7 separate regions of the Homo sapiens genome follow, and all the other regions are linked to region 5. The links are contacts of gene promoters, found by promoter capture Hi-C in blood cells and fetal thymus (Javierre and others, 2016). All regions are on one chromosome and are shown on one strand. Each heading gives the region's core, a stretch centred on a gene start or on the middle of the fragment in contact. The rest is flanking DNA. Distances are from core to core; before and after follow the strand shown.

The links. The method cuts DNA at HindIII sites, captures the fragments that hold promoters and counts their contacts. A CHiCAGO score of 5 or more calls a contact.
Region 1: a contact is called between the fragment with the promoter of ANKRD39 here and the fragment with the promoter of ARID5A in region 5, in 2 of 17 cell types (monocytes and erythroblasts). The highest score is 6.8, in monocytes.
Region 2: a fragment that was not itself captured here is called in contact with the fragment with the promoter of ARID5A in region 5 in 1 of 17 cell types (non-activated CD4 T cells); the score reaches 5.3 in non-activated CD4 T cells.
Region 3: a contact is called between a fragment that was not itself captured here and the fragment with the promoter of ARID5A in region 5, in 1 of 17 cell types (activated CD4 T cells). The highest score is 7.3, in activated CD4 T cells.
Region 4: a contact is called between the fragment with the promoter of ADRA2B here and the fragment with the promoter of ARID5A in region 5, in 1 of 17 cell types (fetal thymus). The highest score is 6.1, in fetal thymus.
Region 6: a contact is called between a fragment that was not itself captured here and the fragment with the promoter of ARID5A in region 5, in 1 of 17 cell types (neutrophils). The highest score is 5.4, in neutrophils.
Region 7: a contact is called between a fragment that was not itself captured here and the fragment with the promoter of ARID5A in region 5, in 2 of 17 cell types (total CD8 T cells and total B cells). The highest score is 7.4, in total CD8 T cells.

Annotation. Positions count from the first base shown.
Region 1 is chr2:96,856,725-96,859,424 of GRCh38, reverse strand. ANKRD39 (ankyrin repeat domain 39) reads left to right here and starts at 1,409. Exons shown (of 4, transcript NM_016466.6): 1 at 1,409-1,537. The coding sequence starts at 1,438. RefSeq lists silencers at 879-1,548, 1,579-1,748. The HindIII fragment of the contact is 20,079 bases long and covers 1-2,700 here.
Region 2 is chr2:96,915,612-96,918,311 of GRCh38, reverse strand. All of the region lies in intron 12 of FAM178B (family with sequence similarity 178 member B), which reads left to right. Among named protein-coding and RNA genes, the nearest start is that of SEMA4C, 47 kb to the right of the region's middle. The HindIII fragment of the contact is 8,021 bases long and covers 1-2,700 here.
Region 3 is chr2:96,131,383-96,134,091 of GRCh38, reverse strand. It overlaps ASTL (astacin like metalloendopeptidase), which reads left to right. Exons shown (of 9, transcript NM_001002036.4): 4 at 34-127; 5 at 550-667; 6 at 1,371-1,552. Among named protein-coding and RNA genes, the nearest start is that of ASTL, 5.8 kb to the left of the region's middle. RefSeq lists enhancers at 1,030-1,530, 2,533-2,709. The HindIII fragment of the contact is 2,736 bases long and covers 1-2,709 here.
Region 4 is chr2:96,115,296-96,118,001 of GRCh38, reverse strand. ADRA2B (adrenoceptor alpha 2B) reads left to right here and starts at 1,431. Exons shown (of 1, transcript NM_000682.7): 1 at 1,431-2,706. The coding sequence starts at 1,853. RefSeq lists silencers at 602-671, 712-1,171, 1,182-1,341, 1,442-1,531. The HindIII fragment of the contact is 8,066 bases long and covers 1-2,706 here.
Region 5 is chr2:96,535,344-96,538,043 of GRCh38, reverse strand. It overlaps ARID5A (AT-rich interaction domain 5A), which reads right to left and starts at 1,292. Exons shown (of 7, transcript NM_212481.3): 1 at 1,214-1,292. The coding sequence starts at 1,217. RefSeq lists silencers at 124-333, 1,014-1,373. The HindIII fragment of the contact is 5,212 bases long and covers 1-2,700 here.
Region 6 is chr2:96,232,092-96,234,791 of GRCh38, reverse strand. All of the region lies in intron 1 of STARD7-AS1 (STARD7 antisense RNA 1), which reads right to left. Among named protein-coding and RNA genes, the nearest start is that of SNORA112, 19 kb to the right of the region's middle. RefSeq lists enhancers at 541-690, 701-770. The HindIII fragment of the contact is 9,545 bases long and covers 1-2,700 here.
Region 7 is chr2:96,179,539-96,182,250 of GRCh38, reverse strand. No RefSeq gene overlaps it. Among named protein-coding and RNA genes, the nearest start is that of STARD7-AS1, 28 kb to the left of the region's middle. The HindIII fragment of the contact is 533 bases long and covers 1,176-1,708 here.

The DNA.
Region 1 (2,700 bases), core at 160-2,659, 320 kb before region 5:
GAACTCAAGACGGGTAGTGGGAATGAGGGGCCAAAGGAGTGGAAGGTTGTGGAGATGAGATCATTGCTTGTGTGAGGATGGGGTTCTCAACCTGCTTAGGGGAGGAGAAACGACTTCCAGCCTTCTACCCACCAGGAATGCTAGGGTCTTCCGTGCCCCAACTAGCGGGGGAAGGAACTTACATCCAGTGTGCACCAGACCACTGTCCTGGAGAGGGACTGGCACAGAACCCAACCTGCATTCTGTCGTTCATGCACTCTTTCTAAGCCGATCAGGCGGTCTCCCCTGTACACTTGATCGTGGCTTGAGCAGGCAGCTGCCTGGGTTTTAACTGGGAATTGAGAAGGCTGGGGTCCGCTGAGGAGCACGCTGCGAAGGTGCGCGGTCCGCAGACGGCCTCCCGGTGGGTTTTGATCATGAAGACCGATTCCGTAAACTCAGCGCCCACTGTGGGGCCAGGGGGTTCTGCACAAACCAAGGCCCTGCCCCTGCCCTGAGGTGGAGCTACAGGCAGGACAAGTTGTGGCCACCTGCCCCTTGCTGGACTTGTAAGGAAGAGCAGGGTACGGGGAGGGGCGTCTCGAGGCCTTTCCAGCCGTCACTTTGCCGCTGCCCCGGGGGCGGTCGGCCTTGGTCCGGGGTGGTGCCAGGAAGAGGGGCTAAAAACCGTGGAGCGCGCCCCGGCCCGATGGCTCACGCCTGTAATCCCAGCACTTTGGGAGGCCAAGGTGAGCGGATCACGAGGTCAAGAGATCGAGACCATCCTGGCGAAACCCCGTCTCTACTAAAAAATACAAAAAATTAGCCGGGCGTGGTGGCGGGCGCCTGTAGTCCCAGCTACTCAGGAGTCTGACGCAGGAGAATCGCTTGAACCCGGGAGGCGGAGGTTGCAGTGAGCCGAGATCGCGCCACTGCACACAAGTCTGGGTGACAGCGAGACTCCGTCTCAAAAAAAAAAAAAAAAAAAAAAAAGACCGCGGAGCGCGTGGCGCCTCCCTGCCCTAGGGACTAGGGGCGGTAAAGAGAGGAGGCTGCGAGGTCGCTGGACGGCTGGGTCATGGCGAAGGTAACGGGAAAGCTCCCGACCGGACCCAGCTGCCTCATCCCCACACCCTGCAAGGCCAGGCGGCCCGGCGGCCCTCCAGCGGCGCGCGGCTCCCGGAACCCAGCGCCTCAGTCCTCGCTTGGCCTTGGACGCCCTCGCGCGGAGGCCTCGGGGCACGGCCGGGCGCAACAAGCCCCGCCCTACCGTTGCAATTGGTTCTCGAGCTAAGGCCTAGGCGTTTGATTGGTCAGCTTTGGCGAGAAGGCGGGACTAGGGCGACAGCCGCGGACGCCGAGCGGCCAGATCAGGGACGCGGGGCGGGCCCTGCGTCCGCCCCTCCCGCCGAGGCTGAGCCTGAGACCCGGGGCGGATCGACTGACGCCGGGGCCGGGATGGCGACGCCTCGGCCCTGCGCGGACGGGCCCTGCTGCTCGCATCCCAGCGCGGTGCTCGGCGTACAGCAGACGCTGGAGGAGATGGACTTCGAGAGGGGTGAGGCTGCCGCGCGGCCCTCGTGGTTCTCACCAGGCCCCGGCCCAAGGAGGAGGCGTGGGGCCAAGGAGAGGCGGATGAACGGGGCCCCGAGAGCTTGGGGCTTGGGGCTTGGGGCCTGGTGCGGGAAGGCGGGCGGGACCCACGGTTCCCGTGTACTGAGAGCCTCCCAGGGCCCCGCACGAGCTCGGCCAGGAGACACCTGTCCCGCGGGCGGCGGGGAAGCGGAAGCACTGGTTTCCGTAACCCTCCCGAGTAGCGGGGGACGACCTCCCCTGGGAGACACAAGCCTGCTCAGGTGTTTGAGAGAGGGCCCGGGGAGCAGAATCTGCACCAGGGGCATTGCACCCAACCTGAGGGGCATGGAGCTGCAGGCCTGGGGGCTGCGCGGTGAAGGAGAGCAGTGGCCTTTGTTTAGCCCCGGGTGCCAGGCAGCCTGCATGCTTTAAAGATGGCAAGAGCTTCGCACGGGCAGCCTTCGAGGCAGGGCACAGTATCTCATCTGTGGGACCCAGAGAGGTAACACGTTTGGCCCAGATTATACAGAGATTATGGTGCCAATAGGAACAGAGGAAGGCGGGAAACCAGGGTGCTTCTTGTGAGCGTTGGGAACCACTGTGCTGTGTCATCTGCCCTTGCGGATGCAGCCCTCGATTGCCACTGCTGTGTAAGCATTCTCATGGAACTCTTCCTTTACCGTGGTTCTGGCACCTGCCTACTTCCCTCCGCCCCTCCTACCGCTGTCCTCTGCACTGCTGAAGTGGTTGCCTCAGAGGGTCTTTCTGCTTCCACGCTTGCCTTCCTACAGGGTTTTCTACTCTCACATAGCAGCCAGAGCGGCTTTTTGAAAATTAGAAATCACATCATTCCCTGTTATGGCCTACAAAGCTCTGTAGACCCACCCCTGCCGGTTCTACTTCTCCTCCTCATTTTATTTCTCATGCTTTTCTTCCCCCAATCACTACGCCGCAGCCACACTGGTCTTGTTTTGGTGTCTCAAATATGCAAGACCTTTTCCTGAGTTAAGGCCGTTGGACTTGCTGTCCCATCTCCTTAGAATGAACTTCCTACAACCGTTAAGCTAGCTGATGCTTTTCTTCAGATCCCAGCTCCAATGTCATCTCCTCAGAGACCCTCCCTAAACACCCCAGTTCTCAACTGGG
Region 2 (2,700 bases), core at 86-2,585, 380 kb before region 5:
TATCAACTCTGTTGATCTTCATGTTGCTTATTATGTTACAGTATGTTTTCTCCAAAGGTTATATAGATTGTCCTTTTTAAATCTTTATGTATGGTACCTTTCAGTGAACTGGAATTTTTTTTCTTTTTTTTTTTACTTTTTCAGTCCTTTTTTTTTTTATTTTAGAATAGATTTAGATTTACAGGACAGTTTTATGGATAATGCAGAGAATTGATTGGGATTTTTGTGTAATGTAATCTTTCCATGTGGAAGACGAAGGGTTTCCCCACCAAGACCATAAAGATAGTGTGCTTTCTTCTCTTTCAGGACTGGCTTTACTTTGTGTCCATCAGCTCTTAATCCCAACTCAAATCTGTTTGTCCTTGGTATGAGAGAAGGATCTAACTTGATTTTTTCCATCCCCAAACAGCCAGTGGGGACCCAACGTCAATTTTTCTGCCTTTTGTTTTGTTTTTTGAGAGAGGGTCTCACTCTGTCACCCAGGCTGGAGTGCAGTGGTACCATCATGGCTCACTGCAGCCTCGACCTCTTGGGATCAAGTAATCCTCCTGCCTCAACCTCCTTAGTAGCTAGGACTACAGACAGATGCCAACACACCCATCTAATTTTTAAATTTTTAGTAGAGACAAGGTCTCCCTATGTTGTGCAGGCCGATCTCAAATCCCTGGGCTGAAGTGATCTTCCCACTTCAGCCTCCCAAACTGCTGGGATCACGGGTGTGAGCCACCATGCCTCAGCTTTTTGGTCTTAATAATTCATCCTTTCAAGACAGATTTGAAGCTACCTTCTCCATATCCTAAGTTTATGACTTCACTCCTTCATCTGCTAGCCATGTTAAACTGTGATTTCATGAATCAGTGTCTTTTGTGGAATCTGTGGGTAGCTCCAGGGCCCATGGCAATTGCCCTTTAAATGCCAGGAAATGAATGAAACAGAGCATCTTGCGCCTGCCTTTCAGGCAGCCACGTCAGCAGGGTGATGCTTTGTGCCAAGAGCTTTACTAGGAAGGAGGGTGCCTTATCGGGATCAGTGTTATTGATTTTATTTTTCTAAATAGATAAAAGCATTCAAATAAAACAAAATTCGTAAGGTACCAAGGAGTACCTTTTTGAAAGTACTCCTTTCAAATTTGATGTTGAAAATGCGCTTCTTCCCCTGAGCCAGAGCCACCTGGCTGGCCGCCAGCCTCTGTCTGCGTGTGCACGTACCCGCCGTTTCCGCACCTTCTTTGCTCTTCAGGGTGTGTTCTGGCCGTCATCCCTGATTGGGTTGTAAAGGGCTCCTAATTCTTTTTTCCTGCCGCGTTGTACTCACTGTGGGTCTTCAGTGAGCTGCTGCTCCACTGTGCTTCCCGCGGCGGCCACAGAGCTTACTGGCTGCCTTCACTGGTGGCTGCCCCACTGGGCTCTGTGCCCAGACTGACCCCAGGAAGAAGGGCAGATTGGTGTACGAAGGGCTGTCACACTCTTTGTCTGCTCGACTGACTGGTTAAGCACAAAGCGAGAACTCCTGCTGACACTCATGCAGTACACCCGCAGCCCCTGCCTCAGCGTTCAAGACTTCATGGGATGCACTGCAAATGTAAGGAAGAGCTGGGCCTAACCATGAAAAATGAAAGTGAATACTAAGGCAGACCACCTGAAACAGAGCCAAGGGGAAGAGGAGGTTCTTGGAGGAACATCCACCTTGGGAGGTGGCGCCATTGGGGCAGCTCAGGCAGCTTTGGGAAGAGCAGCATGCCATCCCCACTTCTGTTCAGGGCTCCTGCAACTGCTTGCACTCTACTGAAAGCTGATGTCCCAGGCTCTGGGGATCCTCTTCCTTCACTGCCTGCGGCTATTCATTAAACATCCTGTGTGCGCTGCTTCAAAGCAGAAGGTCAGATGAAGCCAGCTCCCGCAGGCTGCCTGGTCAGATGGAGGAATGGACAAAGCCTGCGTAAAACGGCTCACGAAACCAGCCCTGACAATGACGTAGAGTTCCTTGCCTGGCAGACCAGAATCAATCCGAAAGGACAGTGCTGCCCAGTGTTGGCAGGATGTGAGGAAACAGGCATATGCTTCCCTGCTCATGAGATGCGGTCAGTAGTCCCTCTGGAGGCCAGTTTGGCAAAATCAAGCAAATGACTTTAAAATGTGCACACCCTTCAAAAAGCTAGATCGTTTTCTGGGGAACTAGATGGCAAAGATTCATTGACAAGGATGTTTGGCATAGCAATGTCATGATAGTGAAGAACTGGAAATTGCCTCAGTGCCCCACCATCGATTCAGTTCTGCCCGTGCTACGGAGTATTATATGGTACCTAAAAATGATGTCACAGGAAAATGGGAAAGTTAATGAAATACGCTGAGTGGAAAAAAGGCTTTGAAGCCATATGTAAAGTGTGATGCCAATTCTGTTTAGGGGAAAAGAAAGGCCATCTTTGGGTGTGAGGTTAATAGGAGTGTTTTTGGTTGCCTAGGGCTTATTTCCCCCTTTCTTTTTTTCTTTTTCTTTTTTTTTTTTTCCCACTCTGTCGCCCAGGCTGGAGTGCAATGGCACAGTCTCAGCTCACTGCAACCTCCGCCTCCCGTGTTTAAGCGATTCTCCTGCCTCAGCCTCCCAAGTGGCTGGGACTACAGGTGCGTGCCACCACACCCAGCTAATTTTTGTATTTTTAGTAGAGACGAGGTTTCTCCATGTTGGGCAGGCTGGTCTTGA
Region 3 (2,709 bases), core at 106-2,605, 400 kb after region 5:
TCCCCAGGGGTTGAACTGCTGCTCTCTCCTCAGAGTCCCTTCCGACTGCTGTCAGCAACCAGCAACAAATGGCCCATGGGTGGTAGTGGTGTCGTGGAGGTCCCCTTCCTGCTCTCCAGCAAGTACGGTGAGTGAGCATGGCGCGCTCCCTCCCTGCCTCAGCCCCTTCTTCCTAATGCGGCAGGTGTTCCTCTCTTCCCTTTTCCTCTTACACCATCACATCCCTTCCACCTCCCCACCCGAAGAACCTGTCCACAGATGCCCTTCTGTTGCTGAAGGTCTCCTGAGTAGGGAGGGTTAAAATCTGATGGGAAGGTATGTCGAGTGGGGATCTGGTTCCCCTTGAGACCATGCGGTGCAGAGGACAGTGACCTACCCAAGGCCACACAGCCAGGGTCTGTCTGGGGCCCAGCTTCTTCCTGGCACCACTAAGCTGCCCTTTCTTGATGCTATTTTGGGAGAGTGAGTTCAGAGCTCTGCTCCCAGACCCTCAGGTAGAGCTCAAAGACCACCAGGGCTCTGGGGGCTCAGCCAGGTGGTGTCTTCCAGATGAGCCCAGCCGCCAGGTCATCCTGGAGGCTCTTGCGGAGTTTGAACGTTCCACGTGCATCAGGTTTGTCACCTATCAGGACCAGAGAGACTTCATTTCCATCATCCCCATGTATGGGTAAGTGCCGGGGCCAGGATGCGTATCTCAGCTCGCTTCTGCGTTCAGCCCGGAATTAACTTGGCCATTGTCTAAAATGTATTCCTGGGCCCATCCTCCAGGGCTCAGTCTCCCTGCCCACCCTGAGGGGTCTGCCAAGTGTGAGCTGGACCTCCAGGGCGGAATGTGGGAAAGGGATGGGAACGGTGCTAGACCCTCCATTTACAAAGCCCTCCTCTCCCGGGGGACTCCATGAGGTGGTGAGGAGAGGAGGTTTTGCGGGGCAGACAGTGCGTGAGTCACTGAGTCCTGGCAAGTCCCCTAACTTCTGAGCCTCTTCTGTCCCCTCTGGGGTGCGAGTGGTGGCGATACCTGCTTCCTAGCTTGTCAGGGGCCTGAGGCAATTTGTGTGAAAGCCTTGGCTTAGGGCTGACCAGGAGGGTGTGCTCACTTAGTAAGCTGCTTCTGTCCTCTGTGTTCATATATCAGTTTCTGCAGCCTCCCTGCAGCCCAGGCTGGTGATGGGGGTCCGGTATGGCCATTTCACAGAAGTCCAGGCAGTAAAGGGGCCTGGAGAATGGTGAACCTGAGACTAGAGCCCAGAGTGGGGCCTGCCTGTTGGGAGTTTGTCTATCTTGTGTTGTGTGGGGAGGGAGAGCCCAGGTCTGTATGTCCGGAGGGATCTGGGCTGGCACTTACCCCACTTGCTCTCATCACCCTGCAGGTGCTTCTCGAGTGTGGGGCGCAGTGGAGGGATGCAGGTGGTCTCCCTGGCGCCCACGTGTCTCCAGAAGGGCCGGGGCATTGTCCTTCATGAGCTCATGCATGTGCTGGGCTTCTGGCACGAGCACACGCGGGCCGACCGGGACCGCTATATCCGTGTCAACTGGAACGAGATCCTGCCAGGTGAGCCAGGCCACACGCAGGACAGGCTGGTGCCGGGGAGGGGACAGCACGGCTTGGGCCCAAGTCGCCTGGTCCCCATGGGTGAGGCTATCCATCCTCCCCATCACCTGCCTGCTTCCTGTGGGGAAGGTGGGGGTCTCACTTCTGTCTGGTACCTGGTACCTGGAGGTGGTACTCTGGGTGCTGCTCTGGGCCCCAGGCCTTCCTCTACCCACCTGTAGTTGTGCCTTAGCTAGGGCGCCACCACCTGCTTTGTCTCGCTTCTCATCCCTGACACTGTCCTCTCCCTGGCGATGGGGCAGGCAGTGCCCATGATACCTGCTTGTTGAGTACTCTAGCAGCGGTCTCATGTACCAGATACCACCACCATGGACTGGGGCTGTGTGCCAGCTTGGGGAGCTGAGCCAAAGTGGGACCCCAAGGTAGCAGGCTGCACAAGCCAAGTGCTGGGCCACGGGCTGAGGGCAGCACTGTGGGGCTGGGACATGTGCCAGTGGTGCCAGTGAGCAGGCAGAAGGAACACAGACTGTGGCCATGGGAGAGTGGAGGCTGGAGGCAGGTGGGCTGTGGTTCCTGTGCTGGCAGCGGCTGTGTGGCGCCGGGGATCAGATCCTGGTGATGGTGGGGTCTCTCTCATTGTGGGCTTGATGGTCTGGTTCAGGAGGCAGGAAGAGCCCCACGAGGGAGGGGCAGAGGAGGTTTGGGTGGGAGTCTGGCTTAGGGGTTGGAGCAGGAAGGCCTACCGCAGGTGGAGGGCGTCCAGCACGAGACCTTTCAGGGCTGTCATGTTAGCCAGGTGAGGCAGCCAGGGAAGCTGCCTGGGCCCAAGGACCTTCCCAGGCCCCAAACACCGCTTTCTCAGTGGCTCTCAGCAAACATGAGTCACAGAGAAAGGGGTGACGGGGCACGTGGGTAGCACCTCACAAAGGGGGAGGGGATGGATATTGAATCAGACCAGGCTGGGGAGGTTGTGAGGGGGGTGACAAGTGACTCTGTACCCTGAAAACAGACTGATCCTTCCCAATGCTCGTGGAACAGTTGTGAAAGTTTACCCTGATAATTTTATGATATACCATGAAATGCCATGAAAACCTGCAACTCTGAAAGTAGACCAATGTAAACATTCTGATCATGATATAAAGTAGAAACCGATACAT
Region 4 (2,706 bases), core at 182-2,681, 420 kb after region 5:
GAGCCTGGGGAGGCGCTAGACATTGTCCGTGGGCACTGAGAGGCCACGTGCTCTGCTCCCATGGAGGGAGCAGGGAGGAGAGGAGGTCCAGCAGGTTGGACGGGGCCTGGGGGAGCCCCACTGTCAGAGGTGGATTGGTGCTTATTTATACAGAGGATGCCTTGCAGAGTCGTGGGCTGTGAATAAGAGGCCTGGCTCGAGGCGGGGCTTATGACATTAGGGGCTCCAGAACCGGGGAAACATGCCCTCAGGGCTGCCCAGGCTGGTGCTGGTGGCGGTGTGGCAGGGAGAGTGAGTTGGGGCCCTGAGGGAGAACAGTTGCTCATAGCGCTTTGAAGGCGAGTGGGGGGCCTTAGTCTGAAGTTTCTTTTTACCCCAACCCTCTTTCCACTGTCACCCCCAGAAGGGCTTCAGTGTGTATGTGGGGCAGGACCGCAGCAGGGAGGGAGGGTCAACCCCTTCCCCCGGGGTCACTACAGAAGCGGAGGGACGCTCCTCTCTTCACGGCTGCCCCTGAGACCTGCTTTTTCTCGGAGCTGTGTGACAAAGTCCCCACCCTTTACTCCCCCACGGCAAGGAAGGGACCTCCCCTTCGCATTAGTCAAGGGGCGGCAGCTCGCCCTGTGCCCCGTACAAACCCTTGGCTGAATCGCAGTTGATGCTGTGATTCGAGTCCAAGCCAGTTTCCCTGTTACCTCCTTTGCCCTTAATGGAGGAAACTGAGGCAGCTGCGGAGACACAAGAAGCCGAAGTCCTAAGACCCAGGCTGCGAGCGCTGGCTCCGGGACCCGGGCTGCCGCTGACGGGCTGGGCCCGCGGGCGGCAGCAGGGGGCGCTCGCAGGCCGGGACGCGCCCTCCTCGCGCGGCGCTGGCCCGACGGAGCTGGTCCGCGAGGGGCAGCGCCTGGGAAAGGGTCGGGACCGGCTCCCCGCTCCCCGCTCCCCCACCTCTCCGCAGGGCGTCTCCACGGCCGAGCCGGGCGGGGTTGTGGTGTATTGCGACCCGGCGCCCCAGCCCCACGCCCGCCCTGCCCTCCCTGCGGGCTCCCGAGCGGCGGAAGGCAGAGCAGGGCGCACCGGCGCCGGGCCCAGCCCGGTTCCCCCGGGAGAAGTGTCCCGTCCCGGTGCCGGCCCGCGCGCTAGCTCCGCGTCCCGGCTCCCGGCACCCACCGACCCCTCCACAGCTGCGCGCGTCCTGCCTGGGGGCCGGAGACCCCGGCCGCCGGGCCCCTCCGCTCTCCCGAGGCGCGGCCGCCGGGAGGAAGGCAGGTAGAGGCGCTGGGCGGGGTCCGGGCGCGGGAAGTCCCGGGCTCACGCCTCCCGCGAAGCGCACCTTCAGCCCACCTCGGTCCGCCCACCGCCCCGCCTCCCGCCCGCTCCCGCGCCCGCCTCCAGTCTCCGCCTTCCTCCAGCCGCTCTCCCCGCTCCCCACTCCCCTGCAGGCGCGGCTGGGGCGAAAGCCTGCGAGCTGAGCGGGCGCAAGGTCCTCCGCGCCTCCTTTAAGAACCGGCCCAGCCCGGCCCGCGCCCCCAGAGCGTACGGCATCCGCGTGGCGGGAGGGCGCGACTTTCTCCGGTCCCGGGCGGGACGGGGACGGCGGCGGGACAACTTGGGAAACTTCTCTGGGGCGGACGGCAGGGACCCCGGGCACCGGTGGAGGAGGATGTAGGAGGGCGGCTGCTGGTCCTGGGTGTTCCCGACCTCCTAGGCCCCGCTCGTCCAGGCCATGGGGCTCCAGCGCCCTCGGCGCCGCCCGAGGGGCGACGCTCTTGTCTAGCCGAGCCGGGCAGCGCTGTCGTCCACGGTGCGCACTGGGCGGGCAGCGCTCCCTCTGCCCACCTCCCGCCCCGTCATGGACCACCAGGACCCCTACTCCGTGCAGGCCACAGCGGCCATAGCGGCGGCCATCACCTTCCTCATTCTCTTTACCATCTTCGGCAACGCTCTGGTCATCCTGGCTGTGTTGACCAGCCGCTCGCTGCGCGCCCCTCAGAACCTGTTCCTGGTGTCGCTGGCCGCCGCCGACATCCTGGTGGCCACGCTCATCATCCCTTTCTCGCTGGCCAACGAGCTGCTGGGCTACTGGTACTTCCGGCGCACGTGGTGCGAGGTGTACCTGGCGCTCGACGTGCTCTTCTGCACCTCGTCCATCGTGCACCTGTGCGCCATCAGCCTGGACCGCTACTGGGCCGTGAGCCGCGCGCTGGAGTACAACTCCAAGCGCACCCCGCGCCGCATCAAGTGCATCATCCTCACTGTGTGGCTCATCGCCGCCGTCATCTCGCTGCCGCCCCTCATCTACAAGGGCGACCAGGGCCCCCAGCCGCGCGGGCGCCCCCAGTGCAAGCTCAACCAGGAGGCCTGGTACATCCTGGCCTCCAGCATCGGATCTTTCTTTGCTCCTTGCCTCATCATGATCCTTGTCTACCTGCGCATCTACCTGATCGCCAAACGCAGCAACCGCAGAGGTCCCAGGGCCAAGGGGGGGCCTGGGCAGGGTGAGTCCAAGCAGCCCCGACCCGACCATGGTGGGGCTTTGGCCTCAGCCAAACTGCCAGCCCTGGCCTCTGTGGCTTCTGCCAGAGAGGTCAACGGACACTCGAAGTCCACTGGGGAGAAGGAGGAGGGGGAGACCCCTGAAGATACTGGGACCCGGGCCTTGCCACCCAGTTGGGCTGCCCTTCCCAACTCAGGCCAGGGCCAGAA
Region 5 (2,700 bases), core at 43-2,542:
AAGCCCTCGAGCCCCGACCTCCCACCCCTCCTGTGCTCTAGCGTTGCCTGTAGGCGCAGTGACGCCACCGTGCGTGTGGGCTCCCACCAGAGGAGCCCGGGTGGGGCAAGAGGCACCTGTTGTCCTCCCCTGGGGCCCGCGGAGCACTCCTTACTGGCCCAAGACTCTGCAAACAAAGGGACACTGGACCCGCAGCGCCTTGGGACCCCCTGGGCCCTCGGGGGTCCTGCACCGCGCAAGCCCCACCACGCCGGCGCTGGGCGGAGGGTGACGCGACCCCAGCCCGGGCGACCCCTAGACACCGCGGAGGGACGGAGCGCGGGCCCGGGTTGGCCCGCAGCTCCCGCCGAGCGCGAAGCCGGGCATCGCCTGCAAGCTCGTAGCCCACGCTCTTGCCCTCTTCCCCTGACGCTCCCCAGCCGCCACCCCGTCCCTTCTGCAGACCGAGGGAAGACAAGGGGACACACAAGGGACAGGAGAGGAGAGCAACCAGGGAAGCGACCCCTCTCCTGTGGGGCTGCGGCGGGTGGGCGGAGAGACAGGAGAGGAAAAGAGAAAAGGGAAGAGAAGGAAGGGGCAGGGGGCGAGAAGCCGGGCTCCCCGGACCATCGGCGCAGCCCGCGGCCGAAAGAGGAACAGTGGATCCTACAAAGCGCATTGAGCAAGTTCTTCACACCCGCGCAGCCCCTTTCAGGAAACGGCGGCCGCAGAGGAAAGGGCCGCGCGCTCTGGACCCGGAGTCTGTGCCCGGCGGCGCCGCGGTTCTGAAACCTGCGGGATGTCACGGGGCGGAGGGGCGGCTGCCGACAGCTGTCACAACAAATTAGCTGAGCCCAGCTCGAGGTGGAAACCGCAGCAGGAAGTGGGACGACAGAGCCGTACCGGGCTCGGCATATTTCAGGCAAGAGACGGCGAAAAGAGTTTCGAGATAAACGCCCGGGAAGCCCCTGGCCGCCAAAACTTTTTGTCTTTCCTTTTCTCGAAGCTCGCGCGGACGCCCAGCCTCACCCCTTCCGCGCCGGCCGGGGAGCGCTGAAGCCGCGGGCCGGGCTCGCTCCCCTTGGCCCGCGCCCCGAAACCCACCCCGGGCCCCTCTCCGCCCCACACAGCGCACCGACTGCCACGAGGGCTGGAGGGGACCCGGCGCCGGCACCTTGAACCTCCCTGCAGGGCCGCCGAGCCCCTGTCCGGGCCGCGCCGCAGAGCCGCTTACCCATGGCCCGGAGAGGTCCCGCGGCGCCCGCCCCGAGACCCTCAGCGCGCGGCTGTCCGGACCCCGCGCTCTCTGAGATACTGGCTCGCGGCGCGGCCCGCCGGCCACCTCCCCGCAGTCCCGCCCCGTCCCGCCCCTGCTCGCCCCACTCCGGGCTCCCATTGGTAAGCCCGGCTTCGTCGCGCGGAGAAGGCGGGGGGCGGGGACCGCCCTTGAGTCCGGGGACCTCTGGGAATTGTAGTGCGCGCCCCTCGCCTCTAGGCTTTCAGACTGGAGCCCCTGGAATAGGCTCCTCACCTAGAGGAGCGGAGGCAGGACCCTCAGTAATCATTGCTGCCTTGTGCCTCAGTTTCCCTGGAGGCAAAACTAGAGCCTTGGAAAAAGCCTCCTTGCTTTCAGCAGAGCACTGAGGACTCTGTGGAGCGAGCAAAGTGCTTCTGACTTTGATTTGAAAGTGGCCCTGTGCATTTCCCAGTCCCCACCTAGCCCAACAAAGAAGGCCAGGTGAGGCCGGGAGCGGCGGCTCACGCCTGGAATCCCTGCTTTGGGAGGCGGAGGCGGGAGGATCACTTGAGCCCAGAAGGTCGAGGCTGCAGTGTGTTTTGATCACACCACTGCACTCTATCCTGGATCCTGGGCAATAGACGGAGACCCTGCCTCAAAAAAAAAAAAAAAAAAAAAAAAAAAAAAAAAAAGGAGAGGTGGTTAGTGTGAGCTAGACAAGGACCAAACTAGTAAATCCTTGGCCTAGGCTCTGTGGCCAGGCCTGCCAGTAATAGTCAATGTCCACACACATAATGCAGACAGAGTGTGGCAGCTACAAGCTGAGTAGTCCAAAGAAGGGGCATGAGTTCAGGCTGTGGGAGGTGGGAATGAGGCCTAGGGCGAATGGAGGCAGGAGGAGGTGCCCAGCCAGCCATAGCAGCAACCTGGACCTGTGCAGGCCAAAGAGGAAGAAATGGAGGCTCAGGGTTTCAGTCTCAGCAGGTGGCTAGCTAGGATGGGAACCCTGTTCCTAGCACATAGAAGCTACACAAAAATCTTTGTTGATGAATTTTAATACTCATAATAGCTCTATGCACTTGACACCATCATTGTCCTCATTTTATAGCGTAAAACTGAGGTCTGAGAGATTAGCTCAAGTAGCACAGCTGGTAGGTGTTGGAGCCAGAGCTAGACCCAGGAAGAGGAGCCCTCATACCCAGGCATCCCCCCACCCGCTTTGCACCCATTACTAACCACTCATCATACTGGTGCCCCTCCTCACACTAAACGAAGGGACCAGGGCTGCAGTTTGGTGAACCTGAAACCCTGGCCCTTACCCTTTGGCCCTGGGATGGAAGATGTCTGCAGGCTCAGTCTAGAGCAGACGACCCTGTGGGCTCTGCAGGATAAATCCCCTGTCTACCTCATAATGGGTTGGCTTGTAAGAGCCAGCACCTGTAGAATTGGTAATAGACACCCAGAACAATCATAATGGTAATTAT
Region 6 (2,700 bases), core at 46-2,545, 300 kb after region 5:
AGTGAGGATTCAAAGACATCAGTGTCAATTAGTGCTCAAACTGGAAGGATTTGTAAATTTAGAAACTGGGTCAGACATTTTTCTTTATATAAATGGAAAAGCTGAGAAGATTAGGTAGGGGTTGGGTGAAAGAGTAAAGCAGAAAGGAAGTAGAAAAGTAGAAAGAAAATAAGAGTCCACATAGACTTGGAGTTGCAAAAGAGGAATTACTTAGGTTCCTGTCCTAAGGTTTGAGTCCTCTGAGAAGATGCCCAGATAGGACTAAATGTGCAAGAGATGTGCTGGGAAAACACTTGTGAAGCGAATAGCAGGAAGCCGGAAGAGCCTGGGAGAGCTGCAATGCAGGTGTAGCCCCTGCCAGGAGACAGGAATGGAGGAGGGCTGGGTTGAGGAGGTGTTAGAACGCAGTGTAGTTCTTTCTTTTTCAGAGACAGTCTCCCTTTGTTGTCCAGGCTGGCCTCAAACTCCTGAGCTCAAGCAATTCTCCTCCCTCAGCCTCTTGAGTAGCTGGGACTACACATGCCTAACCATGCCCAGCTTAGAACGTAGTGTAGTTCTAAGAAAGCTCTGCAAGAGCTGATGAGGTGTGCTTGTGCCAAAGCCACCTGTCAGAGGAGTCCCCATATCCCAGAAATGGGCCTGCCTTAGTATGGCAGGCCTGCACTCAGTCACCGGGTGGGAGCAGCTCACAAGAAGGGTGGTCTCAGTGCAAATGCAGTGGCAGAATTTCATAGCCCAGCAGCAGGGGGCCATGTTACGCTCCCCTGCATTCAGAGATGTGAGCAGTGCACTCTCATGGCCACAGCTCCCAATGCCTTTTCAGTTCCTTTTTCTACCACCTTATGATGCGCAAGTGCCTTTCCTGCCTGTGAATTCTGAGCTTCTTGAGACACTCCTGGATCTTTCAAATTCGATTCCATATTTATGCTTAAACTACTTTGAGTGGATTCCAAGTACTTGCAACAAAAACAACAACAAAAAACATAGATTGAAATAGTAACAAGGGGACTATAATCTAAATTTTCTATATAAGAGGGGATGGAAGGAGGTAATAATAATTCTAGCGCTTATTCCTTATACCCTGTAGAGGGTTCTACAGTTTGTAATGTATTTTAGCTTACACAATCTTATTTGAGTCTTACAACAACCTCTGAACACAAGTAAGGCTGGCATCATTATCTGTATTTCACAGATGAGGAAGCTGAGTTTCAGAGACAATACAAATTATGCTGAATTGAAAAAAAATGGAGGCCGGGCGAGGTGGCTCACGCCTGTAATCCCAGCACTTTGGAAGGCTGAGGCAGGTGGATCACCTGAGGTCGGAGTTCGAGACCAGCCTGACCAACATGGAGAAACCCCATCTCTACTAAAAATACAAAATTAGCTGGGCATGGTGGTACATGCCTGAAATCCTAGCTACTTGGGAGGCTGAGGCAGGAGAATTGCTTGAACCCGGGAGGCAGAGGTTGCAGTGAGCTGAGATAGTGCCATTGCACTCTAGCCTGGGCAAAAAGAGCGAAACTCTATTCAAAAAAAAAAAAAAAAAGACAAACCATATAAATGTTAGCCTCTACCTATAAAAGCAGTGAGCCAAAAGCAGCACTGCATTCCTGGAGAGATTGCAGAAATTAGTTCCACCACTAATCAATGATCTGAAAGACACAGAGCTGATGATTTCCATTCAGCTTAGCTCTCTAGCCTGTGCAGATCCAAGATGGATCCAAGAGAATGGCGTGGATTATTATAAACTCAATTAGGTTGTGACTCCAATTGCAGCTGCTATTCTAGGTGTGCCTTCATTCATGAAGCAAATCAATGCATCCCTTGGAGCAAAGTATGCAGCTATTGATCTGATGAATGCTTTTTTCCTCAGCAATTTTTAGTAAAGACCATCAAAAGCAGTTTGCTTTGAGCTGACAGGGCTAGCAATACCTATTCGTTATCCAAACTCAGGACTGTATCAATTCGCAGTCATCTGTCATCATCTAGTTTGTGGAGACCTTGTCCTCTTCTCTACTCCACAGGACATCACATTCATCTAATGTGTTGATAATATGCTGATTAGAAGTAGTAACTATTCTAGCCACCTTGACGAGATATATGTATGCCAGAGGGTGGGAAATAAATCCCACAAACATTCAGTGAACCTTCTGGGGGGCCTAACGGTCTGGGGCATGTTAAGCTGGGCCCTACTACCACTAAGAGGCACAATGCCCAGTGGTTTTGGATTTTGAAGGCAATGTATACCTCATTTCAATGTTCTTCTCTGACCCATTTTCTGAATAACTTAAAAGGCTATCAGTTTTGAGTGGGGCCCAGAAGAAAAGATGACATTGTCATGACAGTTCCTGACTTATGAAGGTTCAACTTAATTTTTTTTACTTCAGCAATGATGCGAAAGCGATGTGCATTCAGTAGAAGCTGTATTTCGAATGCTGGATTTTGATCTTTCCCTAGGTGAGTGATATGTGGTGCGATGCTCTCTCGTGATGCTGGGCAGCAGCAGTGAGTGCAGCTCTGCCAGCCACAGGATCACTAGGCTGGATGACCAATATTCTACAGTGGGCTGTATGGACGGATCACTTTGCCCAACTGTAGGCCAATGTAAGTGTTCTGGGCATGTTTGAGGTAGGCTAGGCTAAGCTATGATGTCCTGTAGGTTAGGTGTATTCAGGGCATTTGCAACTCAGGATATTTTCT
Region 7 (2,712 bases), core at 193-2,692, 360 kb after region 5:
CCCAGCCCAATCTTTCTTCTTTTTCTCTATGTTTTCTCTCACTTTGTCTTATCTTTTGTTCTCTTCCTCTTCATGCAGGGTGGTACGCGTGGGAGCTGGGTGGGCTGTCCAGTGTGTTTCTGCCTGCAAATTGCAGGTCAAGGTAGACTGCTTTATTTCTTAACCATTGACATATTTGAAACTGGTACCTTTTTATGTGTCACAAAGATTTGAGTATTGCACACCTAAACCCATTTCTCTATAGGCCTTGCAGTTTTTGTTGTGTGGTTTGTGTAGACATGTTGTGAGACAGCAGCACTGAGTGTTCTATGAACAGGAGAACCAAATAATAGGAAAGTAGTGATGCTTTAATAGCTAGCGTGGGCTTAGCTATCACAGCGTGGTGACCGTGGGTTGAGTGTTAGTATGAGGTTTTCATTTTAAAAAATGTATATATATATAGAAAAAGACGAAGAAACTACGTTGTATACCCTTCCCTTTGCTGGTGTTTAACATCTGCTGTGTGTGCTTTCTCTTTCTATATACACAGTGTCATGATCATTTGAAAGTAGGATGCAAACATCATGGTATTTCACCCCTAAACAGTTGAGCATGCTTTTTATAATACAGGTGTTCTGTGTAGCCACAATACCATGAGCACACAAGATAAATAACAATGCCACAATATCTAATAATGCAGTTCATATTAAAATTTCCAAAATGACTTTTATAGCCTCCCCAACCCAAGATTAATTATCGTGTGTTGCATTTGTCTCTTTGGCCACTTTTTTTTTTTTTTGTGAGACAGAGTGTTGCTCTGTCACCCAGGCTGGAGTGCATTGACACCATCTCAGCTCACTGCAACCTCCACCTCCCGGGTTCAAGCAATTCTTCTGCCTCAGCCTCCCGAGTAGCTGGGATTACAAGCGTGCACCACCACACCCAACTAATTTTTATATTTTTAGTAGAGATGAGGTTTCACCATGTTAGCCAGGCTGGTCTCAAACGCCTGACCTCAAGTGATCCACCCGTCTCAGCCCCCAAAACTGCTGGGATTACAGGCGTGAGCCACTTCGCCCGGCCTTCTTTGGCCACTTTTCATCTAGAACAGTAGTCTACCTTTTGTAACTTCACCTGTGCTTCATATAATAGAATGTAGAGCAGTGGTCTTCAAGCTTGGCTGCACTTGGGAAGCTTTGCAAACTCCCAAAGCCTGGCCCCACCCCAGACCATTGAAACCTCTAGGGGTGAGCAAGTGTTGTGCAAGTGTACATGAACAAGTGTTAAATGTTGAATGTGATCAAAGGGAGACAAATAGGCTAGAGAGGCAACAGTCTTCCTAGATCCGCATACTACTGATGTAAGTCTTGTCATACTGTTGGCTTATGCTGAGTTTGGGATTAGCCAATAATAGCCACCATTATTGAGCATCTACTGTGCCAGGCACCATGCTTCATGCCTTCATCTAATTCTATAGCCCTGTGAGTATGTAGCTAGTGCCTCATCTATAAAATGAAGAGATGGCATTAGAGGTTAAGTAATTTTCTTGCTCAGGGTCACACAGGAAGTGACAGCCAGGATGCAGACCTAGCTCTAACATCTCCAAAGACAGCTGGCAGCATGGCTTAAAACTTATGTTTTTAAATTTTTTTATTTTCCCCCTAAAACTTAATGTTTATAAATACTGCCAGATTCTTTCCCCTGGGGGTAGTTGACTTGTTTGGAAGCTTGGATCATAGCTTGCTTTATTTTTTATTATTTATTTATTTATTTTTATTTTTTGGCTAGTGACACAGCCCTCAGGAGATCTTGAGAACATATGCCCCATGAGCTTGCTTTTTAAAAAATTTTATTTTTTGAGATAGTCTCGCTGGTGCCCAGGCTGGAGTGCTGTGGTGCCATCAGATCTCACTGCAGCTTTGAACTCCTGGGTTTAAGTGAACTCCCACATCAGCCTCCTGAGTAGCCCAGACCAACCACAGGCATGCACCACCATTCCCATCTAATTTTTCTGTAGAGATGGGGTCTCACTGTGTTGCCCAGGCTGGTCTCAAACTCCTGACTTCAAGTGATCCTCCCACCTAGATCTCCCAAAGTATTGGAATTACAGGTGTAAGCCACTGTGCCTGGCCTAGGCTTGCCTGCTTGCTTGACTTTTGTTTTTTCAGAGTCCCACTCTGTCACCCAGGCTGGATTGCAGTGGCGCAGTCAAGGCTTACTGCAGTCTTCAACTCCCTGGGCTCAGGCAATCCTCCCACCTCTGCTGGGACTACAGCACGAGCCACCACACCTGGATAATTTTTGTATTTATTTTATAGGTGGGCTTTCACCATGTTGCCCAGGCTGGTCTCAAAACTGGCCTCAAGCAATCTTCCCAATTTGGCCTCCCGAAGCACTGGAATTATAGGTGTGAGCCACTATGCCTGGTTTAGGCTTGCTTTCTGTGTTAAATTTTATGTGGTTTACACTTCTTACCCTCTAGTTCCATCCAGTATAATAGCCAGTTGCTTGAACTTTATCTCTTTCACCAATTGTTTGAGTTCTGTTTCTGTAAGTATCTGGAATCATTTTTCTCTAGAACACTTCAGAATGTACACCACTCCCAGTACCATACTGTGTAATGAAGGGATGGGGGGTGGGGACATCTTGAAATAACGTTTTCTAAAGGTATTAAATTTCAAAGTCACCAGTCTCTGAACCCACCATGATAGGACAGAAATCTAAATATTTTTC